Regions from separate parts of the Homo sapiens genome. Here region 2 is linked to region 1. Evidence: promoter capture Hi-C in 16 types of primary human blood cells and fetal thymus (Javierre and others, 2016). All regions are on one chromosome and are shown on one strand. Each heading gives the region's core, a stretch centred on a gene start or on the middle of the fragment in contact. The rest is flanking DNA. Distances are from core to core; before and after follow the strand shown. Region 1 holds the start of MMP7 (matrix metallopeptidase 7). Region 2 overlaps MMP20-AS1 (MMP20 antisense RNA 1).

Evidence for each region. Contacts are between HindIII fragments. The CHiCAGO score rates a contact against its expected background, and 5 or more counts as called.
Region 2: a contact is called between a fragment that was not itself captured here and the fragment with the promoter of MMP7 in region 1, in 6 of 17 cell types (M1 macrophages, M2 macrophages, M0 macrophages and 3 more). The highest score is 13.1, in M1 macrophages.

The regions. Positions count from the first base shown.
Region 1 is chr11:102,527,924-102,534,537 of GRCh38, forward strand. It overlaps MMP7 (matrix metallopeptidase 7), which reads right to left and starts at 2,824. Exons shown (of 6, transcript NM_002423.5): 1 at 2,670-2,824; 2 at 1-60. The coding sequence starts at 2,777. The HindIII fragment of the contact is 6,591 bases long and covers 2,409-6,614 here.
Region 2 is chr11:102,657,768-102,664,317 of GRCh38, forward strand. The region is part of intron 1 of MMP20-AS1 (MMP20 antisense RNA 1); the gene reads left to right. Among named protein-coding and RNA genes, the nearest start is that of MMP20-AS1, 20 kb to the left of the region's middle. RefSeq lists an enhancer at 5,588-5,757. The HindIII fragment of the contact is 1,365 bases long and covers 803-2,167 here.

The DNA of each region.
Region 1 (6,614 bases), core at 1,574-4,073:
TTCTAAACTGTTGGCATTTTTTGTTTCTGAGTCATAGAGATAAAATCTCTTGAGATAGTCCTATTGAAAAGAGAGTAATTAATCTATAGTTCTTGTTTATTATATTCTTTTATCTTAGAAGCCTATATATCTCTTGCCTTTGGTTCCTGTGAATTCAAATAATGATTTGAAGACAGAATAATTACATAGTCACAGAGAAAAATAAGTGTGCATTAGTGAGGAGAAAATTTAATATTGCTAATGAAGCACTGGCGTGCCATTTCGTGAGCAAAAGAAAAGAATCCCTCAATTTTTAAAAAATCCATTTAAATGTTTTGGGGAGAATTACACTGTACACTTTATAAAGCCTAGAAGTGTGTAAGAGCAATCAGGAAGCATGTACCAGTCTGTCCTCAGGGGTACGACTGGGACATTCTCTGTGTTATCATAGACCCTGTGGGGGAGATCTGAGGTCAACCAGCCCTATCTAAAGTCCAGCTGAGATGCGGTTCCAGCTAAAAGTTAAAGGGTCTTAAAATTTTAGCTCTGGGAAAAGATATTAGGAAATTATTAAATAGTTCAATTTAATAATCCGGTGAAGGAACCAAAGCTTATAGCAACTAAATGATTTATGTGCCCAGGTTCACACCTTAAATTAGTAGCAGAACTGGACTTGACTTTCCTGACTCCTAGGTCCTCTTTTCCCTCTTTCTGCTCATTCCATTCCCAGCCCTTCTTTCTGCTGTTAAATCTCTAGTCAAACCCACTTTGGGAGATTGCAGTATACAGTAGGACTCCCAGGTTTATTCCATGCAAGGTTGGATTCCTGGGAATTTCTCTAAAGTTTCTCAGTATCTGAATATGAGGATAGGAATCCAGCAGCACAAATACAACAACAACAAAAGTGAATGAACTAACAACAATAGCAACCTCACAGGAACATTTTTAAGCACTTACTAGAGCCAGGCACTTACATATTTATTTTATGTAAACCTCATAACCACTCTATGAAACAAGTATGGCATTGTTATCCCTATTTTATACATGAAGAAACACAGCTCAGAGAAGTGAAATAAATTGCACAAGATCACCTTGTGAGTAACTGAAGGAACCAGTATTTGAACTCAAGTGTTCTGACTTCTATACATTAGAAACATGTGTAGGGTTATATGATGCCTGATAATATTGTTGTTAAAATGATTTAAACATTGGCTCACTAATTTGCAGTTTATTTGGAGTAGATGGTAATGGTTACCTGTCTTAGGACCGCCCAGGAATATGCAATTTATGTAAGAAATCTTATTAATATTGTGTCTTTTTTTCCTGTTACCAACAATTGTCTCATTAAATACAACAAATACTTATTGTTCATCCATGACAATTGATAACTGATCCTTTATTTAAAAACAAATAACCCATTTAATCCCTTCTAGAGCTACAGACTTTACCAAGACACCCTCTGGAAGAAATCTCTCTGCTTTGTTGAGATGACTTTTCCTGTTTTTTTGTTAAACCTAGCTAACATCCCTCCAAGTGAAGACTAAGTTTCTGCCAACCTTCACTCTAAGTAAAGAAACTAAACGCAGAGTACTCTTTCTGGAGAATTCATTAGGTGGAACCATATAAAACTACTGTTTTGGAGATTTTAAAAGTTAAATACTAGTAACTTTATGTGGTTCAATCTAACTTATTATAACTGGAACTTTTTAAAAGTCTAAGTTAATGTGAATTAAAAATTGACTTTTCTTATGCTTAAGGCCTAAATTTACAAATAATAGTTATAAGTAATCATCCCATTAGTTAACCAAATAATAATTAGTAGACTGCTTATATTTATTAGACTGCTTATTAAGAAGCATATTGCAAGGAACATGATTTTTGAACCAGAAGCACTTGTCCTTGATTTCTATCTCTACCACTAATAAGTACACTAATCAGTTTAACTTTGGTTTCCTCTTTTTATAGAACTAAGGATTAAATGACACAATGTCTATATAAGTACTTTATAATCTACAATTGTTACATACATGCTAGTTGGTTTTGTTATCACCTCATTTACTTACTAGAATACCCCATGAGGTATAAAACACATAATATTATTTTTTCTACTGGACACATGAGAAAACAAAGTCAGATGTTAATGCCTTGTCTATTGTCATTGACTTGTTGGAGAGTTGTAATTTCTACCCATGTTTTCTGACTTCAGATATCTCCATTACAAACAGTATTGTAAATACACAAACAGTATATTTACAGGTTGTATCTTAAGAGGCAATATTCTGTATACTATAGAAAAAGAATCTCAAGTTATAATAAATAAAAATAAGAACTTAATTTAAACAATGTTTCAGGTATTGTGTTGAATGCTTCACAACACCCTCATTTGGTTGATACCATTCTTATCTCCAACTTCCAAATTGGAAACCTGAAGCTTAGAGAAGTTTGATGACCTTCCTGAGTCTATCTACATAGTGAGTGGAGGGTTGGAACTCAAGCCCGATTTGAGCAGATTCTGAAACCTGCTTTTAATGGCTACTTGATGAAAACATATATTGCTTTTATAATCCGAAGAACCACCCCAAAGAAAATTCCACTGCAATGCTAACATGGGAAGGGAAATAATTGAAAAACACATTTCTTAATGCAGATGGCAAAAGAATGGAACCCTAAGTAAGTGGGCTGTGACATACCTGAGCCTGTTCCCACTGTAGCTCACTCATGCCTCCCGCCTCCTGAGGCAGCGGCAGGGCCAGGCTGCCAGGCAGCAGGCACACAGCACACAGCACGGTGAGTCGCATAGCTGCCGTCCAGAGACAATTGTTCTTGGACCTATGGTTGATTTGGTGTTTTCTGCTAGTGACTGCAGAAATTTATATAGCTTCTCAGCCTCGAATGTGGAAATAGGTGACTCATTTGAGTGTTTTCTTTCTTTTTAGAGTCTACAGAACTTTGAAAGTATGTGTTATTTTTCATTAACTAAAACGAGGAAGTATTACATCGTTATTGGCAGGAAGCACACAATGTATTTGTCTTTCAAAGGATTTTTTTTTCTGTCTGCTGCATAAATTGACTCCATGAGAAACCTCATTTTTTTGCCAAAGTCAAATGACTGCTCTCATAGGTATCATTCAGGACATTATGGTACCATATATTCTTAAAGAATAATATATATTCTTAAATATATATTCTTATTATATGGTACCATGTATTCTTAAATACATGGTACCATATATTCTTAACAATTAAAAGGTTTGGAAAAGTGCACAAAACATGTAAATAATGAAATAATAATTAAGCAAATACTGTAACCGTCACCAAAGTCAAGAAATAGAACATCACCAAAATCCTGTGGTTCTCCATACAGGGGAAAGATGGCAGGAGGCAGATGGAAATGCTGCTGTGTGGCTGGATTAGTGGCCACTCTATATACAACTGTGCTGTGTCCCCTCACCTTCCACGTCCCTTAGCAGAGCAGTGATAATTCCCTTCTTTGGGTCTCCTTTTAATCAGTTTATGTCTTTTCTTAATGGGGAACACTGCCTCTAATTCTTCTTGAATTAAACACAAAAAAATACCAAGCCAACAAAAATCTACAAGCACGGGTTTAACTCTTCATCTGGCTTACTTATTCTGCTTCTCATTTTATAGTAACAGATTCTTCCAAGGCTAGACCTTCAACTTGGAGATCCAATTTTTTTCTTCCAATCACTCTGACTCTGGCTGCTGCCCAGCTACAGGTAGGGCTGCATTGGTCCTTAGTACACAAAATGGTTATTCTACGTATAGCAGTAAGAATCCATTACCTACAGATTCTAGCCCAATGACTCCATTCTTACCAAAAATGAAAGTGAGGCCAAGATGATAATTTAACTTATTATACTTCTCCCAGCTCACACAGATAGTAGCTCAGTGCTTTTTCTATCCCACTGCACTGCCTATTCATTTTGTAATAGGTCTGTCTCTTTTATTATATTATACATTACTTGGGAGAACACCATGGCTTTTGACTCTAATACATCATGGGAAACACTCCAAATATGCTGGAGCTAAAAAATTTAATTAATCACATATCACTTCAATTACATGGTAATTGAGCACTGTGAGCCAGCAAAGGTAAAATTTTCAGATCAGTTAATTAAATTTGCTCTCTTTACAGAGATGTCTTGATTCTGTACGGTCACAGTTTAACTAGAGTAATTGGTATCCTTAGTCAGAGTTTGACATGTGATAAGGTGCACCATAAATATTTGTAGAATAATGAATATTTATGAACTTTACTTGAATAAGCTAAAAATGGAATTATATCACGTTTTTGGTAATATTTGCATTGAATTAAAATCAAAAGGCATTTCCTCAAGTGAATGAGCACACAAGCCACAAATTGGGTGAAAATGAATGCAAAGACACATCCATGGCCAGGCGCGGTGGCTCACGCCTGTAATCCTAGGACTTTGGAAAGCTGAGGCCAGTGGATTGCCTGAGGTCAGGAGTTTGAGACAAGCCTGGGAAACATGGCAAAACCCTGTTTCTAATAAAAATACAACAATTAGCCAAACATGGTGATGCGTGCCTGTAGTCCTAGCTACTCAGGAGGCTGAGGCACGAGAACTGCTTGAACCTCAGAGGCAGAGGTTGCAGTGAGCTGAGATCACTCCACTGCACTCCAGCCTGGGTGACAGAGGGAGACTCTCTCTCTCTCTCAAAAAAAAAAAAAAAAAAAAAAAGACATATCCAATAAAGGACTGTTATCCAAAATATACAAGTATCTTTTAAAACTCAACAATAAAAACACAAACAATCTGATTTTAAAGATGGGCCAAAAACCTTAACAGTCATCTTACCAAAAAAGATATACAGATAGTGAATAAGCATATGAAAATATTCTTCACATCATATGTCATTGGGGAAATGCAAATCAAAACAGTAATGAGATACCACTACTTACCAATTAGAAAGGCCAAAATCCAGAACGCTGACAGTGGCAATTGCAGGATGTTTTAGTGGAAATGAAAAATGGTACAGCCACCTTGGAAGACAGTTTGATGGTTTCTTTCAAAATGAAACATACTTTTACAATATGATTCAGCAATGGTGCTCCTTGGTGTTTACCTAAAGGAGATAAAAATAAATGTTTACACAAAAACATACATATAGATGTTTATAGTAGCTTTATCCATAATTGCCCAAACTTGGAAACAACCAAGATGTCGTTCAGTAGGTGAATGAATACATGTACTGCGGGACATCCAGGCAATGAAATATTATTCAGTGCTAAAAAGAAATGAGCTGTGAAACCATGAATAAACATGGAAGAATCTTAAATGCATGTTATTAAGTGAAAGAAGCAATCTGCGGGGCTACTTAGTGTATGATTCGAACTATGTAACATTCTGGAAAAGGCAAAAATAGGTAAAAATATCAGTAGTTGTGTGGGCTGGACGTGGGATAGGCAGGATGAATAGGCAAAGCACAGAGAATTTCTGGGGCAGTGCATCTACTCTGTACAATACTGTAATGGTGGATTCATGTCATTTTGCATTTGTCCAAACACATAGAATGTACAACATCAAGAGTGAACACAAATGCAATGGACTTTGGGTGATTATGATGTGTCAGTGTAGGTTCATCAATTGTAACAAATATAGGCTGGGCACGGTGGCTCACGCCTGTAATCCCTGCACTTTGGGAGGCCGGGGCAGGCGGATCACCTGAGGTCAGGAGTTTGAGGCCAGTCTGGCCAACATGGTGAAACCCTGTCTCTACTAAAAGTACAAAAATCATCCAGGTGTTGTGGCAGGTGCGTGTAATCCCAGCTGCTCAGGAGGCTGAGGCAGGAGAATCACCTGAACCCAGGAGGTGGAGATTGGAGTGAGCCGAGATCACGCCACTGCACTCTAGCCTGGGCAATACAGTGAGACTCTGTCTCAAAAAAACAAAACAAAACAAAAAAAATACACACACACACAGAAACAAATGTACCTCTCTGGTGAGGGATGTTGATAATGGGGGAGGCTATGCATGTGTGGGGGCAGGAGGTATATGGGACATCTCCGTACTTTCCTTTCAATTTTGCTGTGAACTTAAAACTGCTTTAAAAAAATAAAGTCTTAAAAAAGGTATTTTCTAGATTTTGTATTTTACATTTCTGTTTACTTTTAGCAATTCAAAGAGCATTAGAAATTACAAACACTTTAAATTAATTTTAGTGACTTCCTTCAATATTCACTCTTGAATAAGGAGAAAGAAATCTCTTGTTCATCTAAATTGTAATTAGGAAAAAAGACCCAGTGGAATCAAGTCCCAGTTCCAGCCTTTAGAAGCTCGTGCTCTAGGGTGGCAATATCGGGAGGTAAATACTTTTAAAACAAAATGACACTCGCTTATAATATGCAAAGCTACCAAAGAGAAGGGAACAGTTAATCCTTCTTGTGGGAACTGAGGAGTAATCCATACAAGAGGTGGCATTTTGGCTGGATTTTGGAGGGTAAATAGGAGTTCCCTTGGAAAAGGGCATTCCAGGAAGAAGACATGGGAAAAGAGCATGGATACAGTAGAGCGAGCAGTCAATGTGGCTGTGGTCCGGGATGGTGAGTGGTTGGAAAAGCAGGTGGGGGTCAAGTTGTTGAGAGCGAGCC
Region 2 (6,550 bases), core at 235-2,734, 130 kb after region 1:
AACTTGGAATGGGCACAGAAAACCAAGCAGTGATAAATAAAGCAATCACTAACTATGCTTGTAATCAGTAGCAATGATAAATAAAGCAATCACTAACTATGCCTGTAAGTAGCTGGTATTCTGCTACTTGTGAGGCTGAGGCAGGAGAATCACTTGAATCCGGGAGGCGGAGGTTGTGGTGAGCTGAGATCACGCCATTGCACTCCAGCCTGGGCAACAAGAGCGAAACTCCATCTCAAAAAAAAAAAAAAAAAGAAAAGAAAAAGAAATACCAGAAAACTGTATGTGAATGGGAATGTAATAATAATAAACTATTTGACTTGGAAATAAACAATATTTACATAATAAAAATATAAACACTGTGATATAAGAGGAAGTGTAGGGAAGAAAGGAGGTGGAGGGTTGGTGGGAATGTAATAGAGCTAATATTAACAGAAGTCACTAGATAATGTATAAGATACATTAATTAGGAAATAAATGCACAAGCACATTATTTAGAGAAATGAAGTTGAATACCAGAAGACATAATTCATTATGTTTGCAGTAGTTATCTCTCGTTGTCAGACTGAGGCATAGTAAAAGACAGCTTTAAGTATTTTATTACTATTTGATTTAATTATTAAGGAAAATTGTAAATTGATTTGCATCACATGCACTGTTAACTTGAAGCCAACTGTAAAATGAAGCCAACTGTATGTATTGGTCATAAAGAGTGAAAACTATATTTATTTGTCCCATTGTACAAGCCTATTCCAGCTTCAATTCCTTCCGTCCTCCCTCTTTTCCTTTCCATTAAAACAGAAGCTTCCCTTGCCCTAGGTAAAGGGAGGTATCAATTGAAAGACAAAGAGTGATTAAAGTCATGTATTATTTGCTTTGGAGCTTCCAAGTCTGCAGGTCTTGATAATTTAGAGATTATTAATAAATAATTTTACCTGACTTGAGTATCACATTACTCATCAATTTTGCAACCTAATCCCAAATTATATTGTGAATTATTGAAACAAAAGATAATACATCTTTATCCTTATAATAATAGTTATATATTATTGAACGCTTGCCCCATGCTAGATCTGTTCTAGGTATTTTATGTATTTCATCTAATTTATTCCTCATAGAAACCCTATCAAGTAGGGCTATCATTAATCTCATATTTAGTGGAAACTGATACTCCATATTGTCCTTGGATTGTGGCTGGAAATATTCTCTGTTCTCTTTTGCTGATATCCAGTAACTTGAGATCATGCACTTAGATATACTTGAAAAGAGCGTATACACCCTACAAGTCTTATGATTGCCATTTTCTGTTCATGAAACCTTTTTCTGCAACATTCAGTGGTGCAGCTGCAGATCAGGGAGCCGGGGTGTAGGCAGAACGTCTTTCTGTAAGTTCCCGCTGGGCTCAAGCTCTAACTCATTTCGATTATGCTACAATAACTGGCATTAATGCTGTATTTCTTTGTCCCTTCTGAACCCATGGCTGCAGGATATTTTTTACAATGTGGCATTCGAGACAGCAGCTCCTCATCAAATGGAGTTGTCTCAATCTGTTTGCCTTCCTTGATGTATGAGGCCCTTATTAAATGTAATCCTTAGTTCTAAACAATAGTATTCTGGTGAGGTTTGGCTTTCTCCCACTCCCAGATAACTATACAGATTACAAAGTGCTTTCACATGTATTGTTTTATTTTATCAGTGTAGCAATTCTCTGGGCTACATTTATGCAGTATTTATTACATGCCAGGCCGTCTAAATTATGTAACCCCCCAATCATTCAAGGTGGACGTTGTTATACCCATTCTATTGATGGGAAAACAGGCTCAGAGAAGTGAAATGGCTTGCGAAGACAACCAGATGGTAAAGGACAGAACTTGGACTAAAACTTGGACTTCTAAAGCAAGTTCTCAGTTTCTTTCAAACACTGTAGATGCCCTTAGGTTTCCAACCATTGAAGTAAATTCCACTCCTTTAGCCAGTTGCCTGGTGGAATATTGTTGTTCAGCAGGAGTTTCACCCATCTTCGTGTGTGTGTGTGCGTGTGTGTGTGTTTGTGTGTGTGTGTGTGTGCAACATCTACTTCTTTTAGGACCTTGAAATGGACCTATTCAGCTGGCCAACCACGAAATCTAATGCCTTATAAGCACAATTATTTGTCTTATGAGACCTAAGCTTTCTACCTCTTGGAAAGACCTGTATATATATGTCATTGGAAAATAAATTCCCAACACTGCTGTTTCTTAACCTGTGTAATGATTCTGCTGACAGCTGCTGAGTGAGTATAACTAAAGGGTATATAGATACCAAACCTTACATTAACAAAGAATCAAGGTGAATACATGTGCAGACAACCTTTCTTAAATTTCTTGGACCCCATCTTTGCCTAGTATATCTGAAGCATTTGGATCCTTACTTGAAAGGTGTGTTTTAAAATGAAAACATGGTTATTATGTTTAATTTTCTGTCTCTCTCACCTCTAGGTTTTCTAGTCAAAGTAGATTTCAGGCACTTCTTCTGTTAAGATTGTAATTCTCCATTCTTTTTTTCTTTCATATATTTTTTTCTGCAAGTAGAACCTATCACACTATCTTATAGCTGTTTTTTTCTTTAAAATAAAAATTTATAAGACAGGCACATAAATATTAGAAGCAGTTATCTTGCGGTAGGAGTGCAGGGATTATGCATAGGTATTGTTCTTTTCTCTCTGTACTTTTTTTGTGTTTTGTAATTAGAAAAAAGTTACATAAAAATGTACTTTAGTAATCTCTCTAAGGCCATACTTTATTATTTGTTTATTTTTTTTTTTTTGAGACGGAGTCTTGCTCTGTCCCCCAGGCTGGAGTGCAGTGGCGCGATCTCAGCTCACTGCAAGCTCCGCCTCCCAGGTTCACACCATTCTCCTGCCTCAGCCTCCTGAGTAGCTGGGACTACAGGCGCCTGCCAGCACGCCTGGCTAATTTTTTGTATTTTTAGTAGAGACGGGGTGTCACCGTGTTAGCCAGTATGGTTTCGATCTCCTGACCTCATGATCCGCCCGCCTCAGCCTCCCAAAGTGCTGGGATTACAGTCGTGAGCCACCACGCCTGGCCACATTATTTTTTTTTCTTTCTTTTTTGACAAGGTTTTTTTCTGTCTCTCAGGCTGGAGTGCAATGGTGTTCCAACCTCACTGCAGCCTCAATCTCCCAGGCTAAATCTATCCTCCCACCTCAGCCTCCCTAGTAGCTGGGAGTACGGGAATGTGCTACCACACCTGGCTAAGTTTTTGGAAAAAAAATTATCTTTAGCAGAAACAAGGTCTTGATATGTTGCCCTGCCTGGTCCCCAACTCCTGGGCTCAATCGAATCTCCTGCCTTGGCCTCCCAAAGCGCTGGGATGACAGGTGTGAGCCACAGTGCCTGGCCTGAGGCATGCTTTTTAAAATGGTGATGAATATCTCCACAAAACACAGACATGTGAGGAAATAACAAAAATCAGATAAATTTTAAGGAAAAGCAAGGTATGCTCAGAGATATTTATCTTTTCAAATCTGATTTGAACTATACCTGTAACTACTCTGCCAATAAGATTTATTTTCTTCGAGTAGTTTGGAGGAAATTTTTGAGAAGCATTGGGTGAACGGGAAGTGCTCAAGAGATAACCTGATAGGAATGTTCTAAAGAGGATTTCTGTACTGAGAAGAGAGGGAATGATGAGCTCTGAGCTCCTTTTCAGGTCTAAGTTTTTCTAAAGGCCTTTATGGAAGGCAGGCTTTTATAAAAAAGTGGGGAGGAATCTTAGATTTCTAGTTTGGAGGTGGTTCTACTTCAAGAGAGGTTGTTTGTGTTAACTAGTATTTATTTATATAGCACTTTCTCTTCTTCTGTACAAGATCAGATCATAAATTGAATGATGCTTTTCAAGGGCAAAATACCCCTTCTCCAATTGCTACAGGAAATTCACCATGTTTCCCCACTTGTCCAAGACATAGATCAGCTCTCTAGTTGATGATTATGGAGTTCACACTTTATAGCTAAATTTCATATTTTTAGCTCAATTTTTGTTTGTTTGTTTTCTGGTCATGACCCATATACTTATATTCCCAGAGCACAGAAAAGCAAAAGTGCTTGTGTCAGTGGATTCCCCTGGTCTGCTACTGGTTCTACGATCCCCTGGAGGGACTCATAGGACTCAATGTATAGAATGTATAGTCCTATTCACAGCAAGTATTTATTGCAGTGAAAGGATTCAGATAAAAATTGGCAAAGGGAACAGGTGCATGTCCAGGGTAAGTTAGGTGCAAATTTCCAGGGGTCCTTTCTTAATGTAGTCACAGAGGACACTCTTAAATTTCTCAGTAATGAGTTGTGACAACAAGTGTGAAATGTTGTCCGTCAGGAAAGCCCGTTAGAGACTCAGTGCCCAGGTTTTTCATTGGGGTCTGGGGGCATGCCCTCTCTACCTGCCTCTGCCTGCCATGTACCCAAATTCCAGACTCCCAGAAGGAAAGCAGGTGTTCATTGTAAACCATATTTGCACAGTTTAGGTACAGTGAGCCATTCTTGCCAGTGAATGGTAGGAATCTTCTGAAATCTAAGTTTCCAGATGTCAGCCTAAAGGCCAACCTTGTAAGCAGGGCTTTCTAAGGATAGCAGTTTTCAAGTCTGCTATGTTAACTCTTTTCTGAACTGTGATCTTTCAGACGTTTTCTGAAAAAGGGATCTAGTCTTGCCAGAAGAGGAAGGGCCTCTGACTCTTCTTTTGTAGATTTTGGAGAGATCCTAAGCACTGAACAAACCTCCCTTCCTTTTAACAACAGAAAGAATAGGAAGAATTATACAGGGACAATCAGTAGGAGATTTTTTTTTTTAATCCTTCAAATGAGACCAAATAAGTAGAGGCTTGTCTGCATGGGCATAACAACTTGGTCCAAGTAAATAACCATAAAAGAGATCCTTTACCACAACCCAGTGTCTGCCTTAAGTATGTGTTGGAGCAAGAAAATATATATATACAAGAGCCCCAGTAAGCACTTAGAGGCATCCTGCTGGCTGACTGACAGGGGCTAAATGCTAACTTCAGGTTTAATACACAGTCATCACATTAAACAATATTTACTTGCCAGGATCCTATTGTGTCTGGCTGTTACAGCTCCTTGATGTTTTTCTACTCTCCTTGCCTGGATGTCCTATCCAGCACATTGTCTGTCAGCCCTTTTAATTGCCTTTTTGATGACCCTAAGTTCCCTGTGTGTCTCCTAAGGTGCCATCACTGCAGAATCAGGAGAGTTGCCAGTCTCCTTCCTTGCTTACTTACTGTGTCTCTTGGTAAAATATGGCTCTCCTGGTTATCTGGTAAAGTAATGGCGGTGGGAGGAAGAAGAGTTAATGGGGCATCATCTCTGAAAAGTTGAGTAGATGGGACTAGACAAAGAATGGCAAATATGTGGCCAGTCCCCTCACTCCAGGCTCCTGGGCCTACGGTGCACAGAGAGCATGGCGTTATTTCTTGTTGTGTCCAACACAGTAATTATTCTGGGCAGCCATTTTCAATTCGTCAAAATTGACATAAAAATTGAAGGCTACTTATTCCTGGCTTAGATTGCTTTTAAAGTCCTTTTAATTTATAAGTTAAGTGATTACTTTATTCTTGTGAAGTGCATATAAGTAAAAACAGGCTAAGTAACATGGCTTAGTACCATGTACTGTGGAATATATAATATTTTTACTAATTACTGTGGAATATCTGATATTTTTAGGTGAAATGTGGACAAACATTTAACTATTGTAAACTTATTATGTGAATGAGGAGAATTAGTGAACACATCAAACTTATTTGTGAAAATGAAATGAAGTTTAGATTTATTAATATATTATATTTATTTAAAGGAAAAGGAGCCAAATTAAAGGTTATTTGGTAAATAATAGTACAGGTATGGCAAAAATCACATAAGTAGATTCAAATCCTTGCTTCGAAATGTCCTGACCATGTGAATTTGAGACAGATACTTAATCTCTATGGACTTCAGCCCTTTCACTGGTTGAAGGAAGAAAGTACTGCCCGCTTCCAGTGTTGCTGTAAGTATGAGAAGTAATGATATAGAAGCGGGGAAGGGAAGTGCTGGGAAGGGAAGGGCATGGTCCCTGGCGAGGGCTCCACCCTTGGCCTGTGCCCAATGACCTAGGTGAGGACAGATACTCCAGCCTTCCCGCCCAAATGTTGCATTTCCCAAGACCACCCTGGCCTGCCATGTCCCCATCATGTGCCTATAAAAACCCTGAGGCCCTAGCAGGCAGACACACAAGCTGCTGGAAGTTAAGAGAAACACATCGGTGGAAGAAGACACAAGTGGCTGGACATCGAGAGGACATGGAGGGGACCATGCTGGAGGAAGAGCACACGACAGATGCTGGCAGGCCAGCAGGCCATCAACAGGTGGAACAAGGCGGCAGTTGGAGAAAAGCCCAAGCCGCCGAGCGGCCCAACTCCACAGGAAAACCATCTCTCTTCTGGCTTCCCCATGTGCTGAGAGATATGTCCACTCAATAAAACCTTGCACTCATTCTCCAAGCCC